2 separate regions of the Homo sapiens genome follow, and region 1 is linked to region 2. Evidence: promoter capture Hi-C in human tissues and cell types (Jung and others, 2019). All regions are on one chromosome and are shown on one strand. Each heading gives the region's core, a stretch centred on a gene start or on the middle of the fragment in contact. The rest is flanking DNA. Distances are from core to core; before and after follow the strand shown.

Region 1 (4,154 bases), core at 1,193-3,692, 370 kb after region 2:
CTTGCTGTGGAGTGAGACCTCTGGAACACAAACTTAACAAAAATTCCTGACATGTGTTATGATGGAGGCAGGAGAGCCGAGTCCTGACACCCTTGGCCAGACCTTTCACCTCTCTGAGCCTTGCCCTTTCCAACTGGGCCAGGAGGGGACTGGATTCTGCAGAGTAAAGGCCAGGCCAGCTTGCCATCCCGTGACTCTGTGAGTTTCTCTTTCTTCTCTCAGAGGCCAGGTGGGCAGGGTGGCCCAGAAAAGGCTTATGGGCAGGAATAGAGGTAGTCTGGCACCAAGGACAGGGTGCGTGGGATAGCTGGGTGTGGGGGCTATTTATTCATTCATTTATTCATTCATCCATCCATGGAGCACCTACTGCATTCCTTAGCCCAAGGACTTGGAAATCGGGCACCCTAACATGCTGCTCCACTACTCAAGGGACCTATTAATAGATTCTGAACTGGCTCCTCCCCTCACCGTGCATTGCCTCTGTTCTAGAGCTAGGATGGGCACACTGGTTTGTGACTTTTAGCCATCAGGGGCCATATCCAGCAGGGGTTTTGGTTGAATCTGAGTCCAGCTAAGTTAAACCAAAAATAGATTTACTGGAAAGCTTTGGGATGGCTCACAGTCTTGTTGGGGAAGGGGGAGAACCAACCTCAGAGAAAGGGAAGGCACCCAATGAGGCAGGGAAGTATGTTACAGAACCAAGGGACAGTCAAGCTCATACACTACTTCCGGGACTGCTTCTCCTCACCTGACCCCTCCCAGTGGACCCTGACATTGGGAATCATTTCTGAAATGCTTCTTTTCATGAGGAGTATCTGGCTGTCTGTCAGGGGGCTTCAGGAGGGAGCTCTTTGAGCTTCTGGCCTTCCCCCCTCCCTCCCTGAACTCTCTCCAGCTACTGCAGCCTATGCCCAAGCTGATATTGTTTTCTAACTGACCAAGCTCTTTGGCTTCTCCAAATGCCCCAGCCAGCCCTGGGCTTTCTGAACTCACTATATCTCCAAATAACTTCTTTTTCCCCTCCATGTATGTCCTTTAGGGTCACAACGAAAGGGGCCAACACAGACATCTCCCTCACTGGTCTTGATCATTTTGTGCCTGGCCCCAGCCTAATTTAAAGCCCTGTAAACTAGTACATGTCGTGACCTCAGGGTAAAGGTGAAACCCCCTGCCATCTGCTGAGGGGGTAGGGGGGGCACCTGCTGGAGGAATGGTACAGTCCAGACCCATGATTGCCCCAGGAGAATCAGCCAGAGGCAAGCCAGTCTGCTCAAAGCCCTGGAGGCTGAGAGGTCTGGTGGCAGCCTGTCAAGGAGCCAACCGTGCAGGGGGCTGGCCAGGCTGGATGTGGGAACCACACTGGAGACTTATTGGCGCAGATCCCTCTCATAGCTATGCTACAAGCCCTCTTATCAGATGCAAAGGGGATCTTCTGTTCTCCACAAGGGCAATGTCCTACCAAGGTGGGGGTAAAACTGGCCTTGGGAAATTAGAGACATTACGTGACTTGCTGAAGGTTATGTAGATGATAATGAGCAGAGCTGCAACTCCCCAGTCCTCAGTCAGCAACAAAGCACTCTAGCAAAGACCACATTGTACCAGCTCCCCCAGATAGCTTTCAGGAGCCCCCAGCTCCCCCGCCAGCCACCTGCCTCAGGCCTTAACTACTTCATTAGAACCACAGTGTGTCCAAGCTTGAAGAGACCTCAGAGGTCAGTAGCCTAGCCCTCCCCTCACACACACATATGCATACACACACAAGTACACCATTACAGCTGGAAAATTGAGGCTTGGGGAGGGAAAGGAGAATGCCAAAGATTGGCAAGCAGGTTGATGGGTCTAGAAGCCAGATCCCTGGGCTCCTCTGGCAGCCATGGTTCTGTGTACAAGCCTGGCTACATTCCTGTCCTTATCTTACAACCTAGCCGCAACAGCTATTCCTACCTGTCCTCTTTTCTCCCTGTCCTCGAGCTTTGCATTCAGGGCCGAACCTACTGCTGGAGAAGTCCCCGCCTTCCACCCGAGCACCCATGGATCAGCTGGTGCCCCTACAGCTATCCTGGTGGAAGAGCCACCCCACTTCTGGCCCACTTCCTTCTCTTTTAATAGCATGTGTGAAGAAGAAGCTGTTGGTGCCAAAAAGATTCCAAGAAAATAGGTAGGCCCAGGCCAGGCAGCCCAAGCTGCTAATGCAAAGAGGCAGCTCCTACCCTTCCATCAAAGCCCTGGAATCCAGAACTGCAAAGGCCCCAGGGAGGAAGTAAAAGGAAGCTGAGTTGCTAAGTGGCCTGCCCCCATCCTCCACCCCACTGCAGATGCCTGGCTGGCTGGACAGGAGGGCACTAGCAGAGGAATGATGATAACCATCCCTCCCATCTGGACGGCCCTTTCACACACCACTAACAGGCTTCCCTCCCCTTCTCTTGTCCCAGCCACACAAAAGGCTTGGTAATTATCCCCAGTAGCCAGATGGAGGCTCAGAGAAGACAAGAAACCTGCCTGAGGTTGCACAGCTAGTTGGTGGTGGTATTAAGCACAATTTGCAATCCAGGAATCCATGTCCCGTGCATATTCCCCTTAGCTTTCACCTGGCTTACAAACCCAGGCCTTGGACTCCTGGATCTCTGCCCCAGCCAGAGGGCAAAGAGGATAGGGCACCCAGGCTGGGAGGGACTGTAATAGAAGAGGGTTTAAGATGGGGGAGGGCACTGAGGACCAATATGACAGAAAAAAGCAAGTCTACCCCTGTCCCAAGTTTCCCTCATTGCCCTCTCGACTGAAGAACTTTCTTTAGCTTTTCTTTTAGAGCAGATCTGCTGGAAACACATTCTCTTAGTTTTTCTTCATCTGAGAATGTCTTTACTTCTGCTTCCTTCTTGAATGATATTTTCACTGGATATTGAACTCTCTGGGTTGACAGTTCTTTTCTTCTGGAATTTAAAAAATACTGTGACACTTCCTCTGGTCTCCATGGTTTCAGGCAAGAAATCCACCATCATTCATACTCAGGTCTCTTCTGACTTCAAGGGCCTGCTCCAAAGGAGGCCATGCAGGGTAGCAGAAAGAACTCTGGAGGACTGGGAGTTGAGCCACAGCTCCACCACTTCCTATCCATGTGACATCGCATGAGTCCCTCCACCATTCCCAACCTCAGCTTTTACATTGCTGCTATAAAAGGGTGGGACTGGATTGTCACACTAAAGACCCTGACATTCCCTGGGTCTCTGAGAACTATCCAATTCCCAGGGGTGCCAAGCTCCTGATGATGAGGAAAGAGACCCCACAGAGACACCCTCTGTCCCTGCTTTCCTTGGGGGATGTGGCTTGAGTCCTGTACTTTTTGTTCCCTCGACTGACGCCTGCCCTGGCCTCACCTAGCCCATTGAGGCAGGGAGGGTTCTTAGGATGTTTCAGGCTTCCCAACCCAGCTCTCAAATCCTGAGCAACCAGGGGAACCCTCTCTTTCCCTCTCGTCAGGGCCATTGCAGAGCACTCCTTCAGTGGGCAGGGGGGCAATCTCCAGGACCATCCAATGTCTCTCCCCATCCTACCCACCCTACAGTACAGTCTGACTGCTGGGCTCTCCCAGACACTGCCATGCTGTTTTCATGCTTCCATTTTGTTCCCTTTGCCTTGGAAATCCTTTCTCCCTTGTCTACTTGGCAAGGTCTTGCAGAAGCAATACTAGCTCTTTACTTCTCTCTGCCTCAGTTTTCTCATCTGTAAATTAGAGATGACAATAATAGTAATAATACCTACCCCATAAAGTCATTGGGAAGATCAAACAAGCTACTCCCTATGAAATCCTTTGAACAGTGGTTGGCCCATAGTAAATATTCAGCAGACACTAGCTTATTATTACAGTTATCATTAACACTATTATAGTGTGATGGTTAAGTGCACAGACCTTAGAATCAGACTTCCTCTGTACAAATCCCCTGTGTCAACTTAACCAACTACTTGACCTCTATGTGCTTCAGTATTCTCATCTTTAAAAGGCGGTTAATAATAGCCCCACCTCATAAGGTTGTTATGAGGATCAAATGAGACAACACTTTGCACAGAGCCTGACACATAGTAAGCCCTCAAAAAATGTTAGCTGTGATGATAAGGATGCTCATCAACAATTCAGCTTCCTTTCCTCTTGAGAAAGA
Region 2 (4,125 bases), core at 855-3,354:
TGGCAGTGGTGGTCTTAGATGAGAAGAACTCTGGGCTATGGCCAGGAATATAGATGAACTTTCCAGGCCTGGCAACCTCTTGAAGGACAGTGAGGGAAGAGTCCTGGCCAGCCCCAGGCTGCTGCTGTCCATGCACGACCCAGCCTTAACCAGGAATGAACCAAAGAAGCAAAGAAGCAAGGATTGGCTGGGAATTTGAGCCAGTATGGTACAGGGGAATGGCCACAGGCTTTGGAGACAGATGTCCCAGGAGTCAAATCCTGCTTTCACCACTGATCAGCTTGGTGATCTCAGATGAGTCACTTCTCTCTGAGCCTTACTTTCCCCTGTAGGTAAAATGGGGATACTGAAACTCATTTCAAAAGGTTATGAAAGGAAAAGCATCTAACTTGGTTCTTGACAATAGTAGGCACTCAGTAAGCAGCAGGCTGCTTTCTGTATTCAGGTTTTGATGTCCTAGCATGCACTCCAGGGATCCCAGTCTCCCAGCTAGACTACTGGTGTGTCCCTACACCCTATTCATCTCATCTCTCCTTCCTTACACCCCAATGCAGGGTCCAGCTGAGAGCTCAGAGACCCCAAACAGCTCCTTCTTTCCCTACCTACCCAGAGCCACTTCACCCTCAAGGGCTGCCCCTGGAAGTGGGAAGGGCCCAGATTTTCCCTATTTTCTCCTCTATTTGGGAGAAAATAAAAAGACAAAATCTGGGCTATTCCCACCTCTACAGCCACAAAGATCATCAGAGGATCCACTGAGAAACGCAGTAGCTCAGTCACCTATTAAGCGAGATGATGGACATGAAACTGTGTGAATGGTGGAGCACTTTGGGAATGTTGCTCATCTAATTATCTCCATAAAGAAAAAGTGGGGAGACCTTGTATTCTTGGCAGTCCCTAAGCCTACCCCAAACTCAGATATCCTTCTAGTTCTTTCCCTTCCTCCCCATACAGGGTGACGGTTTTTGCCAAGGCTACGCCTGTCCCAGGTCTTGTGCTATGGCAAGCTCCGGGTTTATCCCAGGCGCCCGCAGTGCTATGGAAGTCCAGCAGGGGGAGACATTAGCACGTGGGTACGTCCTCTGGGGTCCGACCAGCGAGAGTGGGTCGGACCTGGAAGGTCTGAGCTATGGGATCGAGCCAAGTTATAAGCAAAGAGGCAAGGCGGGGCGGGAAGAATGGGCCAGGGCTGGGAGACAAAGACCCAGATGGCGAGGCCGGGACAGGCTGGAGTCCGGCTTCTCCGGTCCAGGATGCCCGCTTTTGCTTTTTCAAAAGTCTCATGCCCTGTGCTTTTTCCTCTTTGCCCTCGAGGTGTCTTTCTTTATCGACGTGCCCTCTCATCCCCGCTTGCCTATCCCGGGACCTTGCCCGCGCCTTCGGACAGGACAAGACTAAATCTTGGCTCCAGAGGTCCCACAAGGCTCCCCCAGAAAGCTGAGATTCCGAAGGCCTGGTCCCCAGGGGCGATGAACACGCCTTCTCTCCCCACCACACCCCACCCTGCTCCCCGCCCCACCTCTAACCCCAATCAAGTACTGGACCCTCACCAGTTTCCCCCTCCCACTGTTCTCACTTTTATGTTCCTGACTCCGGGTCCAAGTGCAAGCAGACAGTGCATTTTGAGGGCGAGAGGAGGAAAGCCCACTAAAGCCTTACGTGGGACTGGACGAGGAGCAGACAGGCTGTCCTTGACACGGAGGTGGGCACAGAGCAGGACTTCAGGGGTCCTGTGTGTAAAAAGAAAATGGAAATACTTTCCTGGGGTACTTGGGACAGGGTCAGTGGGCTGGGGTGTTGACCAGACGCGTGGAGAGGAGAGCAGGCCGGCAGCTCTTGAGAGTGCCAACTTCCCACGGGTTGAGCTCTCTGGGAACAGGACTGAGAGGGACCCAACCCTAACCGCACGAGCCGCACACTCAGATTGGTGCCATCGGGCGCGCGGCGTCCTTAAGAGCTCCCTGAAACCCCGCCCCCTTCCTGCTCTGGGGGCGTGGTATGGGGCAAGGACCCCGCCACTGAGCTTGCTATTGGCTAAGAGAGCAGGGTTGGCCTTGCGTTCGCCTGAGCAAGGGAGTAGACAGCACAGCGGCAGCGGAGGGAGTCTATGCGAGCTGGACAGCAGTGGGAGGTTTGTGAGGCTCGCACTGGCCGCAGACCCTCGGGCTCGATCGCCCGGGAGCCAGGACTCGGCGACGCGAGGCTGCCGGGCTACCCGGCCGAGGCTTCGGGGGCGCAAACTAATGGGACTGGCTCGCTCGGCAGCATCTCCCCGCTCTTCTAAGTACACTGAGCAGGGCCCGCGCTGAAGTAGAAGCTGTCCGGGGGCGCGTAGCCCGGAGTCCCAGTGTGGCCCGGAGGAACGGAGCCCGTGCCAGGGCGGCCCAGTCGGGAGCCCGGGGACCGAGCTTGTGCTGTGGGGAAACCCCCACTTCTTCCAAGGGACAGCGATCCCGGGACGGTCGAGGCGTCGGGGCGGTCACCGAGACCTCTGCGGGAAGACCCCGTCGGGGAGAGGGCGCGCAGCCCCGAAGCGTCTCGGGAAGTCGAGCGGAATCGGGCGGGATCACCCGGGGGCGCAGAGCCCCCGTCGCGCCTCGTGCGGCAGCGGAGAGCCCAGGAGAACGAGCCCTCGGGGGCCGAAGCCCATGCCCGGGTTGGGGGCGGCTGCCCAGTGAGTCCTCCTGGCCGGCCGGGCGGAGAAGAGCGACACCGAAGCCGGCGGGAGGGGAGCACTTCAAGGCCGGCGGCTGCGGAGGATGGGCGCCTGAGCGGCTCCGAGCGCAGCGCGGCAGAGGAAGGCGAGGCGAGCTTTGGTGAGGAGGCGCCAAGGGATCCCGAAGTGCAGTCTGCCCCCGGGAAGATGGCTCGGCCTGGGCAGCGTTGGCTCGGCAAGTGGCTTGTGGCGATGGTCGTGTGGGCGCTGTGCCGGCTCGCCACACCGCTGGCCAAGAACCTGGAGCCCGTATCCTGGAGCTCCCTCAACCCCAAGTGAGTAACTTATCTCCTCTGGACGCTGGGGTGGGAGGCACTCCTTCAGGGTGAGGCCGCACGCCCCGGAGTGCATGTGGGGAGGTCTTCGGAGGAGGAGCGGCGCCTCATTTTGTCTCCGGCTTTTTCGAGTGTTTTCCTGCGGGCGGGCGGATGGAGCAGGGTGCGGCGGGGTGGGGTAGGGGCACTTGGCTGGGTTGTGACCCCCCGGGCTTCCCACCCCCTGCCTCTGCACGTCTTGGATGAAGTCGAGGTGGTCGCACAGGCGGAGCTGGGGAGTCCGGGCGCCCGAGAGCGCACCGGAGAACTGAGTGGAGGCGAGAACGCAGCTCCCTCCGGGGCCCCTGGGAACGTGGTGATTTTCGCCGAGAGCCGCTCCAGGAGCGAGCTTGACTCGGGCGAGGGACGAGGCCAGAACACGGGTTCCTCGTTTGCGTAGCTGTGGAGGGAACACAGAGCGGGACCCGGCGCTTGGGGTGGGTGGCAGCGCCAACATCCCCACTCGGGCTTCTCCCATTTTCATTTCTCTTTCTTCCCTGTTTTCCTCCCTGGCTTTTTGCTTTGCTGTCTCTTTTTGCCCCCCGCCCCTCCTTTCTCCCTGCCGGAGCGGTAGAAAGGCGGGCGCTGCTCCCAGGCTCACAAAGGCAGCGGGTGGAGAGGGGCGGAGTGGGAGAGTGGTCGTTGGGTAGTGGGGGTTCGAACCAGTGCCCGTCAGGGGTCCAATGGAGCCGGTAACAGAGCTTCAAGGGCCCGCCAGGGCGGAGAGTGGCGGCCGAGCTGTTGAGGGAGGTGGGTGGAGAAGGAGCGATTCCTGCCCAGGCAGGTCCCCTTGGCCCCCGAGTCTGTCCCCCAGATTGGGAAGCTGTGCTTAGTTTTCCCCAAGGGGTTGGGGCGGGGAGTGGGCAGCTATATAAAGGACATCCTTTCTTTTCTTTCTTCTCCTTCCTCTGCACAACTACCCCACCACCACCACACACACAACCCCTCCAAACAACACGCACACCTTTCAGGGCGGTGGCTCAGTGGTTTCTGGGCTTTTAGTGGGAAGTCGCTGGGGCTGTTGTAGTGACCTCTGGACCTTCTCTTTTGGCATCCAGGACTCAGGTTGGAACCAAGGGTCAAAATTGCCCTTCCTCT

What was found. The method cuts DNA at HindIII sites, captures the fragments that hold promoters and counts their contacts. A contact is called where the count stands out against the background at its distance.
Region 1: a fragment that was not itself captured here is called in contact with the fragment with the promoter of EFNB1 in region 2 in 1 of the 25 tissues and cell types used here (IMR-90 fibroblasts).

Annotation. Positions count from the first base shown.
Region 1 is chrX:69,195,572-69,199,725 of GRCh38, forward strand. All of the region lies in intron 1 of LINC00269 (long intergenic non-protein coding RNA 269), which reads left to right. Among named protein-coding and RNA genes, the nearest start is that of LINC00269, 18 kb to the left of the region's middle. The HindIII fragment of the contact is 8,137 bases long and covers 1-4,154 here.
Region 2 is chrX:68,826,917-68,831,041 of GRCh38, forward strand. EFNB1 (ephrin B1) reads left to right here and starts at 2,105. Exons shown (of 5, transcript NM_004429.5): 1 at 2,105-2,988. The coding sequence starts at 2,861. The HindIII fragment of the contact is 29,584 bases long and covers 1-4,125 here.